Regions from separate parts of the Homo sapiens genome. Here region 1 is linked to region 2. The links are contacts of gene promoters, found by promoter capture Hi-C in blood cells and fetal thymus (Javierre and others, 2016). All regions are on one chromosome and are shown on one strand. The core of a region is centred on a gene start or on the middle of the fragment in contact, and the rest is flanking DNA. Distances in the headings are between cores, read along the strand shown.

The links. The method cuts DNA at HindIII sites, captures the fragments that hold promoters and counts their contacts. A CHiCAGO score of 5 or more calls a contact.
Region 1: a fragment that was not itself captured here is called in contact with the fragment with the promoter of OLA1 in region 2 in 1 of 17 cell types (fetal thymus); the score reaches 7.9 in fetal thymus.

Annotation. Positions count from the first base shown.
Region 1 is chr2:172,967,883-172,974,623 of GRCh38, reverse strand. The region is part of intron 10 of RAPGEF4 (Rap guanine nucleotide exchange factor 4); the gene reads right to left. Among named protein-coding and RNA genes, the nearest start is that of MAP3K20, 100 kb to the left of the region's middle. The HindIII fragment of the contact is 818 bases long and covers 2,802-3,619 here.
Region 2 is chr2:174,244,738-174,251,535 of GRCh38, reverse strand. OLA1 (Obg like ATPase 1) reads left to right here and starts at 3,004. Exons shown (of 11, transcript NM_013341.5): 1 at 3,004-3,084; 2 at 4,721-4,821. The coding sequence starts at 4,721. RefSeq lists a silencer at 2,699-3,218. The HindIII fragment of the contact is 2,463 bases long and covers 2,632-5,094 here.

The DNA of each region.
Region 1 (6,741 bases), core at 1,961-4,460, 1.3 Mb after region 2:
GCAGCCTCCACTTTCTAAGCTCAGGTGATTCTCCCACCTCAGCCTCCTGATAGCTGGGATTACAGGCATGCACCATTACGCCTGGCTGATTTTTGTATTTTTTGTAGAGATGGGTTTTCGCCATGTTGCCCGGGCTGGTCTTGAACTCCTGGGTTCAAGTGATCTGGGTGCCTCAGCCTCCCAAAGTGTTAGTACTATAGGTATGAACCACCACACCCAGCCTTGTAAGAATTATTTTAAATTGGATTTCCCTGACACCTTTCCTTTCCAATGCTCAAAGCATAAACCCATGAGTCCATTCTGAAGCCCCTTTGGACGATGGCAGGTTATGGTAGTGCACAGTAAAGAGCACAGGCTCAAGAGTCAGGCAGATCTGAGTTGAATCCTGAGTCTAGTGTTTTGTGGATAACCATAGGCAAGTGACTCAGCCTAAGCCTCTGTCTCCTTGTCCATAAAATGGGAGTAATGTTAAATAACTACCTCAGAGTTTTGTTGAAGGAATTGAATTAAGTAATTGTTTAGCACAGTGTCTAGCACACAGATGCTCGATAAATGGTGGCTATAGTTAAATTCAGTTGGCACTTGTGTTTTCATTTCCAATCTATTGTGAAGTAGGGAGAGGGCAAGCAGGTATTATTGAATTCCTTTTATACCTTAAGAGACTTGTAATCTGAAGATGTTAGATGATATAATGATAAACTGGTAAGAATAGAACCCAGAGCTCTTGTGCTCAGTAGTATTTTCACTTCATTTACAAGACTCTTGGGTCAAATGCACGTATCTCAAAGGCTGTCATTTCAAACTATAACAAACATAATCTCATAAAACTCAGTATCTGGCTTTCTGTCTTTAGTTGGCCCCTCCAGTCTATTCTCTGGAGATAGCAGAGAAACCAACCTACTACAAATCTGATCACACCACACCTCTCTCTAAAACTCTTCAGTGGTGCCCCAAATGACTATAAAATAATACCCAACGTACACAGAGGGCATGGCAGATGCCCCCACTGACGTCAGCCTAACTCTCCAGCTGCATCTCCTAGTGCTCCTGTCCGGTCACTCCCTTGGTGTGAAACAGTTTACAGTTCCCTGCGGGAACTTTCCCAGCATCTTTCTGCCCCACCTGTGCCCCTATCTGGCTAGGAGCTCTTCCTTTGTTCTGGGAAGAAGAGTATTAAAATATTATTTTTTTGCTGCTCTTAAGAAGAAAGGTGCTCGGCCCAGTGGCTCATGCCTATAATCCCAATACTTTGGGAGGCTGAGGTGGGAGGATCGCTTGAGTCTGGGAGTTCAAGACCAGCCTAGGCAATATAATGAGACCTTGTCTCTATAAAAAACTAAAAAATTAGCTGAGCATGGTGGCATGCGCCTGTAGTTCCAGCTACTCGGGAGGCTGAGGTGGGAGCACCACTTGAGCTCAGGAGGTGGAGATTGCAGTGAACTGAGATCACCCCACTGCACTCCAGCCTGGGTGACAGAGTGGGACCCTGTCTCAAAAAAAGAAAAAAAAAAAAAAAGAAAAAAAAAGGGGCTTGAAAAACAACCTAAACATCCAACGATCACAAACTGAATGCATTAAAGAACATTCAGAGAACACACCTATTTAAAAGCTCCATCCTTAAAGGATATTTAACTTTAAGAGAGAATGCTGTGATATGTTATTAAGTGTAAAAAGTTAGGAATTAAAAAATAACTAAAGGGATAGGCACCAAAATGTTAACAGTAATTAACTGAGACATGTGATTGCAGGTATTTTTTCTTCTTTTTTAACTCTTGTCAGTGGTTTCCAAATTTTCTCCAATAAAGAGATCGACTTTAGCAATAAAAAGTCATTAAAACCTTGAGGCAATCTTATAATAAACTCTAAACTGTAGATGAGCAGCTAAGTTCATCCTCCCCTCTCCTGAATCTTAATCATAAAGGTAGCAATCCAATGGCTGGTTTCAGGCCATGTGGATATGAGGAATAAGAATAAATTGCTTTCATGGGGAGAGGCAGAGAAATGACCTACTTAATGCAATCATTTATTCAGGTAAATTCTACAAGCTTTCACTTGTGACGCCAAAATCTTTCCAGTAAAGACCAAGGTGAAGGTCACCATGCAGTGAAGGAAGGATTCGCCGTGACTGTCTTACTTCAGAAGCCTAGGTTCTTTCGGTCGTGCTTTTCTTCTCATCTGATTAACATTTGAGATGAACTTCGTAACTGTGGACATTCTCTTGACACATCCCAGCAGAAATCAAAACCCTAACCACCACCAATTTTAGGCTTGCTAATCTGGAATCCCCCGAAGAAACAAATCCCTCTATAATTACCAGGATTTTAAATTCCACACCCTGGAAAAGAGTTTAGACAAATAAAGATCCTATTAAAACAGGCACTGCTAATTAAGACACAATACACAGGCTCTCACGCGCCCTCTAGAGCAAGTGTGTGGAATCGAACAGCAGCAGGGTAGTCTCCACCCAGCCTCTGCAGGACAGCCTTGCATTAGGGCAGCCAATTAAGGGATAAACAATACCCTCCCCACCCCCGCCCACAGTATTTTGCCTTTATGTCATTTAATCCATCTTAAATTGTTGCCTTTCAACTTTACGCCCTATAGCATATGTTTGATATGAAGCCAATATATCTCACGTTTCCATATTTCTTAATGCCTTAGCAGAGTATGGGCAATAAGAAAACAAACAAAAAAACCATTTCCAGGACCTTTGAACATGCTCTCAGTTTTCAGGAGCAAGGTGTGTTCAGATGGTCTCTTCAAGACAACAATGATACTGGCAATTCTTGACCAACGAAGCTTGTTTTCTTTCCGTTTAAGTAAAATTAAATAGTAACTCCAAAGATTATTAGCAGATCAAAAAAAAAATGGGGTATGTGTGTACGTGCATGTAGAGTTGGACTGTCTGTCTCCTAAAATTAGATTCCTTACTTTTCACTTTCCCATCTCTCAGAGCTCTTATTCCAGCAGAAAGAGTCAAAAGAAGAAACTGCCAGCCCAATTCCAATGTTTAAAAAGTTTCAAAAAACCTAGGGAGATGGGAAAAATCCCAAGGGCAACTGAAATATTAATTTATCACATAAAATAAACGAACTCAAGTTTGTGTGTTTCTGACCCAGTTGGAAGATTCCCCAACTTCTAACAATTCTCTTATATATACATATATTTCTCTCTGCTCGGGCCCAAATGACTTTTCTCTTTCTCAACTTACTTAGGCTTCTACTGTTAGGCATTTTCAGAACTGCAGACCTAAATTTTGATTTGGGAAACAGTGTCTACTTAACTGTCCTCCCAACTTTAGGCTGGTCTCTGATAGACCATCCTGAACATTGGAACCTATGTCTCACTTTACTTGGAAGGAGTGGTTGGAAGGCTTGTACAGCAGAGCGTCCTGTCTCCTTGAAGCCTCTTTTTTATCCACAGTTGGCCTCAAGTTTACAATACTCTGTTTACCTAGTCACTCCAGATCCTTTTACTCATATTTCTCTAACCAAAGTACCTGCTCAAAGAAAGCCAAAATGCACATTTCTACTGGTAAGAGTACCCATTATATCTACTTGCTATAGGGCAACCTCTTGTTTTTAGATTTATAAACAAAGCAAAATCAAAACAATAAGCTTGGAGAGCTCATTCAGTGTTTGATGGCCCTGTCTCAGAGCTACAACAACAGCACCGTCAAACTGTCATCGTTCTGTAGCACTTGCCCCCAAATGCCATCCAGGTCTGCACCTGCGAAACCAGGACGGGCATTGTGAGTCACTCTGTCTGCCACCACATAAAAAGCTAATTTCACATGCAGAATGTATGTGTTTTTTTTCAATACCAATAGCAACAAGAGTGTGCCAAAAAATTTCCCCTGAAGCTCTATTCTGTTTTTTAAACTACAGAACATTCTTTCATAGTTTGACAGTTAAAATGCTGCAGTTAATGTAATAAACAGAGAATTTTTCTAAGTAGCCTGTCAAAACAAGTGACACTTTTTTTTTTTGCTAGCAAGTCTCAGATTCAGAACAATAGGAAGTACCTTTCAAAGCAACATCTTCATTATACAATCAAATTCTCAAAGTAATCTTCTCATCAAAGAATATTGTGTTATTTCTTTCCCAGTAATTATCAGAGTTCTGCAACCTCTCTGGCAGTGGTGACTATTATAAAATGCAGCCGTGCTGAGTTTAAAAGTTGGGGGTCCTGCCCTGGTCAGTATGAAGCCAATGCATCTCATGCCTCCACATTTCTTAATGACTTAGCACTTTCGGCAGTAGAAAGTCAACATTTCCAGGACCTCTGAACATGCCCTCAGTTTCCAGGAGTGAAGTGCTTGGTTGGTCCCTTCAAGGACAGTAGTGATACTGGCAATTCTTGATCAACTAAGCTTGTTTTCTTTCCACTTAAATAAAGTAGTAGCTCCAAAGATTATTAGCAGATCAAAAAAAAAAAAAAAGGGTGTGTGTGTGTATGTACATGTAGAGTTGGAATATCTGTCTCCCAAAATTAGATTCCTTATTTTTCACTTTCCCATCTCTCGGGAGCTGTTATTTCAGCAGAAAGAAAACTGAAGAGTTCCAGAAGTGCCAGCCCAATTCCAACGTTTGCAAAGTTTCGAAAAACCTAAGAAGATGGGAAAATCCCAAGGCCACCTGAAATCATGTATCTTGGAATATTTGTAAAACCTGTACTTTAACAACTAGCGATATAATGGAAGAGTGTCAGTTTTGGAATGTAATATTCTGTGAAGAATCTGGGCTGCCAGGGATCATGCGATTCAATGGTGTATGGACAATAAAAGGAAGCACAAGCAGCGACTCCCATTTCTCCCAAGGTGACTCATGAAAACAAGCTCTCATGTCTCTTGAGAAGGCTAAATCAAACAATTAGCATGAATGTTCCTAGCATACAGCAGGCACTCAATTGATGATTGTTGGATCTTAATCTAATTTGGGGATTCCTCTCCCACTGAATTATAAACTCCCCAAGGGCAGGAGCCATTTCAAAAACATTTGTGAATCAGATGGCATTTTTGCCTCCCTTGAAGCAAGTAAGAGCTGAGGGAACATTAGCTGGGACTGTGTATTCACACTTCCATTCATTCATTCATTCATTCACTCACTCAGCAAAGGTTTACTGATGGCTTATGTGGTGTAATGCACAGAGCTAGGGATACGGCCTTACTAAGTTCCACACCAGGTTAAACCCTCCTCCACATTAGGCTGTGCCAACACACACTACATCTTCCTCCATAGCATGTAATGCAGCTGTGATTAAATGATTGCTTGCATAAGTAGTTGCTTAATCCTCTGCCCTAGACAGAAAACTCCAAGGAGGAGAAGCCTTCTTGTTCAATGTTTACCTTAATGCCTTAGCACCTAACATAGTATCTAGAACAATGTAGGTACTCAATAAATGAACAAATGTAGTAAAATGAGATCTGTCTTTGCCTTTAAGAAACTCATGGTTGACTGCAATATTTCTCCACACGGGCATTGTTCTCAGGACAGCTCTTTATTGTGTTGGGTTCCTAGGTACTGCAGTGTGTTTGGCAGCCCTTGGTCCTAGCCACTGCCCAGTGAGTGCTAGCAGTGGGCCCCCTCCTGTGCTTTGACAACAGCCCTTAGGGGGCTGTCCCACCTTGATTCAGAACCACTGCATATGTTGGCTTGGATGCAGGTGGCAGCAAGGAGGACAGCAAAAAGGGGATGGACCCAGGAAATGATGAGGAAATATGCAGGAGGGACAGTGGGACAAGAGGGGACAAGAAAGAAAACATGGCTTAAAATGGTGGTGTTCATCTGAGTTCCCCAGGCCCCAGGGATTCTCTTGTGCCCCCTCAGCCATGCTCTCCTATGATCCTTCAGGGCAGAGAAAGCATACATTGGCTGGGCAGGTTTCTTGGACCCCACTCCTGCTTATGTCAGTGAAGCTCTAGCTTTGTTTGATGTTTTGGATTTTCCTGTTCATCTTTTTATGTGAAGAAAGGGTTTTGAGGCTTACAGAGCTGAAGAGTGTGGTTCTAGAGTTAAGGATGATGGTATCTGCTGGGATGAGGGGAGGCCTTTGAAACACATGGTGTGGGAGAGTCAGACCCATGAGAAAGTTTTGACAAAGGGGACAACCCTGAGTAAGGGCAAGTCAAAGAATCCTGGGGAAGGGAAATTAAAGTGCCTTCAGAGAGGCTACTGTGGGTTGGTCTGAGGGGCAGCCTCTGGGGAGGCTGGCCTGAGGGACACTTCACTCTTGGAAAGCACCCAGCAGACATCCAGGACATGTAACATGTAATGCCCTTGTCTAATACAAGACTAATACACCAAGGTCGGCCAAACATGACTCAGAGCTGACATCCACAGCTGGCCGACGCTGGCTGTGGGGCAGAGGGCGTCTTCATTTCCAGCCAAAAAACACAAGCCTGTGTGGTGGTTTCGGATGCAAGGGCCAAGTCACCGCTAACTGAAAAGGTTTCCCTGAGGATCAGGACCACATGTATGCTTCTTTATATGCCCCATAGCAATTTGTGGAGTGCCCTGCATCAAACGGGGGCTTAATAATACATTCTTTCTGAGTGGATCTGATTAAACATTTCAGAGTCCACAATTGCAGGTGGTGGCCTGCTCCTGAAGGTAAGGTGGGTTCAGCTGAGACAGAAGGGAGAGACTGCCTCAGTGGCTCAATGGGGGCCTTGACAGGGGTAATGCAGTTGTGGTGTGCTCAGAAGAATGAGCTTTAAGCTGAAGAACAGAAGCCTCAGAG
Region 2 (6,798 bases), core at 1,755-4,254:
CGGGGAACATTTTCAATCAGTATTGGAGTGGCTGGTTGCTGGGCAGAGAGGGCTCTCTGGGATTCTTGAGTTTTTTTTTTTTTTTTTTTTTTTGAGATGGAGTCTTGCTCTATTGCTCGGGCTGGGGTGCAGTGGTGTGATCTTGGCTCACTACAGCCCCCGCCTCCCACGTTCAAGCGATTCTCCTGCCTCAGCCTCCCGAGTAGCTGAGATTACAGGTACCCGCCATCACACTCAGCTCATTTTTGTATTTTAAGTTGAGACGGGGTTTCATCATATTGGCCAGGCTGGTCTTGAACTCCTGGCCTCAGGTGATCTGCCTGCCTTGGCCTCCCAGAGTGCTGGAATTACAGGTGTGAGCCACCAGACCTGGCCTCTTGAGCTTTTTTTTTTTTTTTTTTTTGAGACGGTGTCTCGCTCTGTTGCCCAGGCTGGAGTGCAGTGGCGCAATCTCGGCTCACTGCAAGCTGCGCCTCCCGGGTTCATGCCATTCTCCTGCCTCAGCTTCTCCGAGTAGCAGGAACTACAGCTGCCCGCAACCACGCCCGGCTAATTTTTTGTATTTTTAGTAGAGACGGGGTTTCCCCAGGGTCTTGATCTCCTGACCTCGTGATCCGCCCGCCTCGGCCTCCCAAAGTGCTGGGATTACAAGCGTGAGCCACCGCACCCGGCAAGCTTTTTAAGTAATGGTTCCTCTCTATTTCCACAAGCAGCAGTGTGAATCCACTATAGAGCTTCATTACTAAAATATCAGTACATGATTCAGGAATCACTTTGAAGGGCTGTTCCTGAGAGTTATTTTCACAGTGGCCACAAAATTTGGGCTAGTTAGCCCTCTTTTTCATAGTTAAAGTGCACCAAGATAGCTGTTTTATACATATATAGTTTTGGTGACAAGGGTACTAGACCAAGAATATAAATAGGGCACATTAATATATAATATTAAGAAAAAGTAATACAAAACCAAATCAAGTTGCCTGTGTCCTTGAGAATTTCCAAAATTGTAGAGAAAGCTCTTTAACTCACCTCACTAGAGCACTGTTACAGGGCTAAGGAAAAGCCTTAATGCAATTTTATTATGAATACTGGCTCAGAGCTTATAGGGAGTCTCTATTTGAATGAATTCTCGTCTGGGTGCGGTGGCTCACGCCTGTAATCACAGCACTTTGGGAGGCCGAGGTGGGTGGATCACAAGGTCGGGAATTCGAGACCAGCCTGACCAACATGGTGAAACCCCGTCTCTACTAAAAATACAAAAATTAGCTGGGTGTGGTGGTGTGCACCTGTAATTCCAGCTACTTAGGAGGCTAAGGCAGGAGAATTGCTTGAACTCGGGAGGCGGAGGTTGCCGTGAGCCCAGATCACGCCACTGCACTCCAGCCTGGGCGACAGAGTGAGACTCCATCTCAAAAAATAAAAATGAATTCTCGCTGAAAGGAAACAGATTTTTCAGATAGTTTTAGTTTTACTTTTTATTTGTATTTATTTTGTTAGAGATAAGGTCTTGCTCTACACCCAGGCTAGAGTGCTGCGGCAGTGATCATAGCTCACTGCAACCTTGAGCTCTCAGGCTCAAGCCATCCTCTCACCTCAGCCTCCTGAGTAGCTGGGACTACAGGTATGTGCCACTACACCCAGCTAATTTTTGTTTTTTGGTAGAGATGGGGTCTCACCACGTTGTCCAGGCTGTTCTCCAACTCCTAGGCTCAACTGATCCCCCTATCTTGGCCTCCCAAAGTGCTGGGATTACGGCCAGATTTTCAGTTAGATTGTGGTTTGAAATATGCTGCTGCCATTTACTAGTTGTGTGACTTCATCCAAATTAATCAACCTTTCTGATATTGTTTCCTCACTTGTAAAATGGGGATGGCGACCTATTTACATCCTTTAATATTAATAGCAACTAATCCCTTTAAAAGGAGCTTCTAGTGTCACAATTTTTGGACAGGTATCATATTCATTACAACAAATACCTGAATGACATCTGAAGGCCAGGACCTAAATGAAAGAATTCCTTCTCCAGTGGCGCTCATGGTATTGATATGATGTGGGTGAGATGGGATGAAATCCTAATATTAACAACAGCGACTACTCACAAGCCTTTTCTGTATGTGCTGAGTACTGTTGTTATGAGCTCAACACGCATTGTCTCATTTTATTCTCACACGAATAACCTCATAAGGTGGTTTTAATAGCCTCATTTTATCCAGAACGAAATTGAAGTCCAGAGAAGTTAATTTGTCTAGGGTCATACAGTCAATGAGTGGCGAAATCCAGATTGGAAATTCCCAAATTTCAAAGGCCCCTGCTCTCAACTACCAAGAGGAAAAGGGGGGAAATTGGCTCAATTAAACGCATTCTGTGATCCAGTACCTGTGTGCGACGCTTTAACTATAAGGCGAGGAAGAAATCCCTAGACCAAAGTTTCCCTTAGCCCCTTTTCCTTCAAGAACTTTTAGTTAACAGCTTCTCTCCGCACAGACTGAGCGAATAAAGTTATAGAAAAGGGAGATGGGCTAGCGGCCACGCGGTCCTCGGGGCTGGTGTGGCTGTTTGCCTGACTTCAGACGCCCCGGATCTCCCGGAGGGAAGTCAGGGCCCAAGGCACTCCGCAGTCCAGCTGGGAAAGCTTGGGGCTGTAGGCCCGCGAGTGAACGTGAGCAGGTAACCCAGGCCGCGCAGCCAGACGGAAGCGGAGACCTAGAACCGAGAAGCCCACGTGCCGAAGCGGAAGACTAGAGCTCCCGGGAACGGCCTAGCCAGCGCCTTCCCCTCTCCAGCTCCCTGCCGCCGCGCGGCTCCTCCCACCCTGGGCTCCTCCCGCCCTACTCCCGCCTCCCCGGCCGGTTAGGCCAATGGGCGGGACGCGCGGGCAAGGCGGGGAGGGGCGGGGCCCATGGTCTGCGCGCAGGTGCCGCTCGGCGCCCGGCCCGCCCGTTCCGCCGCTGTCGCCGCCGTCGTGCGTGCCGCTCGGCGGAGGGGACGGGCCTGCGTTCTCTCCTCCTTCCTCCCCGCCTCCAGCTGCCGGCAGGACCTTTCTCTCGCTGCCGCTGGGACCCCGTGTCATCGCCCAGGCCGAGCACGGTGAGGCCCTCAGGGAGCCCGGGGGCGCGATCTCCGCCAGGTCTTCGGCGCCTGGGCTCATTGCCCTGAGGCTGGCGCGGGGCCCGGGCCCAGTGGCCAAGATGGGGCCAGGGCAGCGGGTGGCTTGGGGATGTGTGGATGAATGAGGCGCTGTCGGACTAGGCCGCGCGTCGGGAGATCGGCCTACGCCTCACGCGGGAAAGCCCTGGGGAAAGCCTTCTCCCGACGCCAGGACGCCCGGTGGCCCAGTCCGGAGAGGAGGATGGGGGGTGGGGCCCACTTTGGGTGGGCTGCCGGCCACCTCTCTGTAGGCCAGAGGACCCGACAGGCGCTGTTCCTGTATCTGTTCTTTGGAGGCCTGGGAGTTGGCCAGGAACAGGTGTCAGGACGCTGAGAAGGGAAATTCCTGGCCCTCGGGGTCAGGGATCAGAGGCTGGAATACTACTGCAAGGGCAGGGCCCCAGCGTGGTCCTAGGAGGTACAACTCTCAGCCAGAAGACTGGGACAGTTTTAGTTCCCAGCTTCTGAGACGTGAGCTTAGCGGTCTTTGTGATTTCACTTTGCAGTCCAAGGGTGGGAGTAATTCTGCACGCATGATTTGGAGACAGAACTAGTAAGGGACAGAGAAAGTTTCGACTTGTAAATAAAAAGGTTCCGTCGATTAATTTACCATTAGAAATAGTAACCATAATGTAGATTTTGGAGGTTGCTTATGAGGACTGATGAGCCGTACCTTCAGTGCCAAAGGTGGGAGGGACTTGGTGGAAGGACCCCAGTACCTGGTGGGTGTTCATCTATGTGAAAAATGGGGGTTGTGGGCGAATGGGAAAGATAAGATTCCAGATTATAGAGGAATGGTTTGGTGTGAAGGGTGACTTGGCTGCTGGTGGTTCCACAATGGAATTTTCTTTGACTGTCTTCTGTGTACTTGCTTCCAAATGCTTTCTTTCATATAACCATATATCAGGTTAAGATATAAAGTGTTTTGTGAGCAGTCTGGATGGAAGATTGGTAGCTAAACTCTAAGTTTATCTTTGATTCCTGGTGCCACAAATATTTTATTTATTTATTTATTTATTTAAGACAGAGCCTAGCTTTGTCGCTCAGGCAGAGCCCAGTGGCGTGATCTTGGCGCACCGCAACCTTCGCCTCCCGAGTTCAAGCAGTTCTCGAGCCTCAGCCTCCCGAGTAGCTGGAATTACAGGCTGCGCGCCTGATGGCCGGCTAATTTTTTTGTATTTGTTTTTCTTTTTAGTAGAGACGGGGTTTCTCCGTGTTGGCCAGGCTGGTCTCGACTCCTGGTCTCAAGCAGTCTGCCCACCTCGGCCTCCCCCTCCCAAAGTGCTGGGATTACAGGCCTGAGCCACCGTGCCCGGCCCAACAAATATTGATTTTAGATCAGTCTTTCTGGGACTTCTCAGCAATGACTCTTTTGACAACGGATATGTTTACAGAACTTTTTAAACATTTTTGCTGAAAAAAAAGTGGATTTAGCTCTGTGTTAGTTTTGGATCGCTATATACAGTATGTTTTGTTCTTAATCTTAATTCAATAATATATTGTATGTGATGAAATGTGTTTTGGGTCCATGTGGATAGTAAAAAGTTTTGTTCATATGTTTGCTTTGGTATTTCAGATGCCCCCTAAAAAGGGAGGTGATGGAATTAAACCACCCCCAATCATTGGAAGATTTGGAACCTCACTGAAAATTGGTATTGTTGGATTGCCAAATGTTGGGTAGGTGAACGTTGGGGCTTTTGTGATTTTCATTTTGTAAATATTTTGGGTCCTATTGTAGAAATGGGAACCGTGAGGTAATTAAACTTTAAGTTGAAGAAAAGAGGCCAGGAAGCTGGACTATTAATATTGCAAAATTAGGCTTTAGTTTAGATGTATTTTATTGATTTCAGTGCTGGTTGGCTATGTGTGGTACCTACATAGGCTGTCTACCAGAGGCCATGCAGTAGGCTACTTTAGGAAATTGATTTGAAAGCTCCACCATAATAAGCTTGATGGAGAAGGAGGTGACAGTTTTGAATTTCGTAGTGGAAATCGTAAAAGGTTTGCTGTTATAAAGAGTCTAAATCTGAAAGTTCTGAGAGCAGAAATTTGAGTTTTGTAATATTTTCTTTTCTTTTTCTTTTTTTTTTTTGAGATGGAGTCTCACTCTGTCGCCCAGGCTGGAATGCAGTGGCATGATCTTGACTCACTGCAACCTCTGCCTCCCGGGTTCAAGTGATTCTCCTGTCTCAGCTTCCTGAGTAGCTGGGATTACAGGCGCGCACCACCACGCCCAGCTAATTTTTGTATTTTTAGTAGAGACGGGGTTTCACCATGTTGGCCAGGCTGGTCTTGAACCCCTGACCTCATATGATCCACCTGCCTCAGCCTCTTATAGTGCTGGGATTACAGGCATGAGCCACTGAGCCCAGCTGTAATGTTTTCAAAGTTACAGTGAATTGAATATATGCAAATAAGAGAGTGATAGGAAATATATGTGGGGTTTATCATAACTCTATACACACGCAACTTAAGTGTTCAAAGTCTTCTTTTTTTTTGAGATGGAGTCTTGCTCTTTTGCCCAGGCTGGAGTGCAGTGACGTGATCTCAGCTCACTGCAGCCTCTGCCTCCCAGGTTCCAGCAATTATCCTGCCTCTGCCTCCCGGGTAGCTGGGATTACAGGCATGTGCCACCACGCCCGGCTAATTTTTCTATTTTTAGTAGAGACGGGGTTTTACCATGTTGGCCAGGCTGGTGTTGAACTCCTGACCTCAGGTGATCTGCCTGCCTTGGCTTCCCAAAGTGCTGGGATTACAGGTGTGAGCCACTGCACTGGGTCCAAGTGTTCCTTTTTCATTATTTATCCTTTCACTAACCTTAAAATATAAAACATCTCAAAAGTGATTAGGGTGTACTAATAGGTAGCAGATTCAGTGTGGATTTGTGAAAGTGATCAAGGGTGGCCTTTTAGATTGGTGGCAAGTAGGACAATCATGTTCTTAGGTATTCCGAGGAGCTCCTGTCATAGAGATTCCTCAATGAACAGAGCATGGCGTGACCAAGTGAGGCATGTCTTAAATTCATGTAATGTAAAACATGAGCAAGTGTGGCTGTCCTGATTTCAGTCTTTCCTGGAGCTTGAAGAGGTTTTCATTTTGAAGGGGTTTCCTGCTGTGATATAGTCTGCTTGCAGAGTAAGACTAAGTAGAGAGTTGAAATGTAAGCAAAACAAATAATTAATCAAAATACTGTAGGGTGCTATCAATAAACGTGAAAGCAAGCTATGATCATTATTTATGTTGTGAGCTTTATTGCACTAGTAAGGAAGTTAAGTTTTGAGATATTGACATACTTCTCATTCTAGAATTGTTGCAGTTACTACAACTTGATTTTAAATGGGACTATATTAAAATGGGCCATATTAAGTGTTTTCTGTACATATAGGCAACCCTCTGTATCTGTGGTTTCACATCCTTGGATTCAACCAATCTCAAATCAAAAATATTTTTTTAAAAAATTGGCTGGGCATGGTGATTCATGCCTGTAATCTCAGCACTTTGGGAGGCCGAGGTGGGTGGATCACTTGAGGTCAGGAGCTTGAAACCAGCCTGGCCAACATGGCGAAACCCCATCTCTACTTTAAAAAAACACAACAAAAATTAGCCGGACATGGTGGCAGGAGCCTGTAATTCCAGATACTCGGGAGGCTGGGG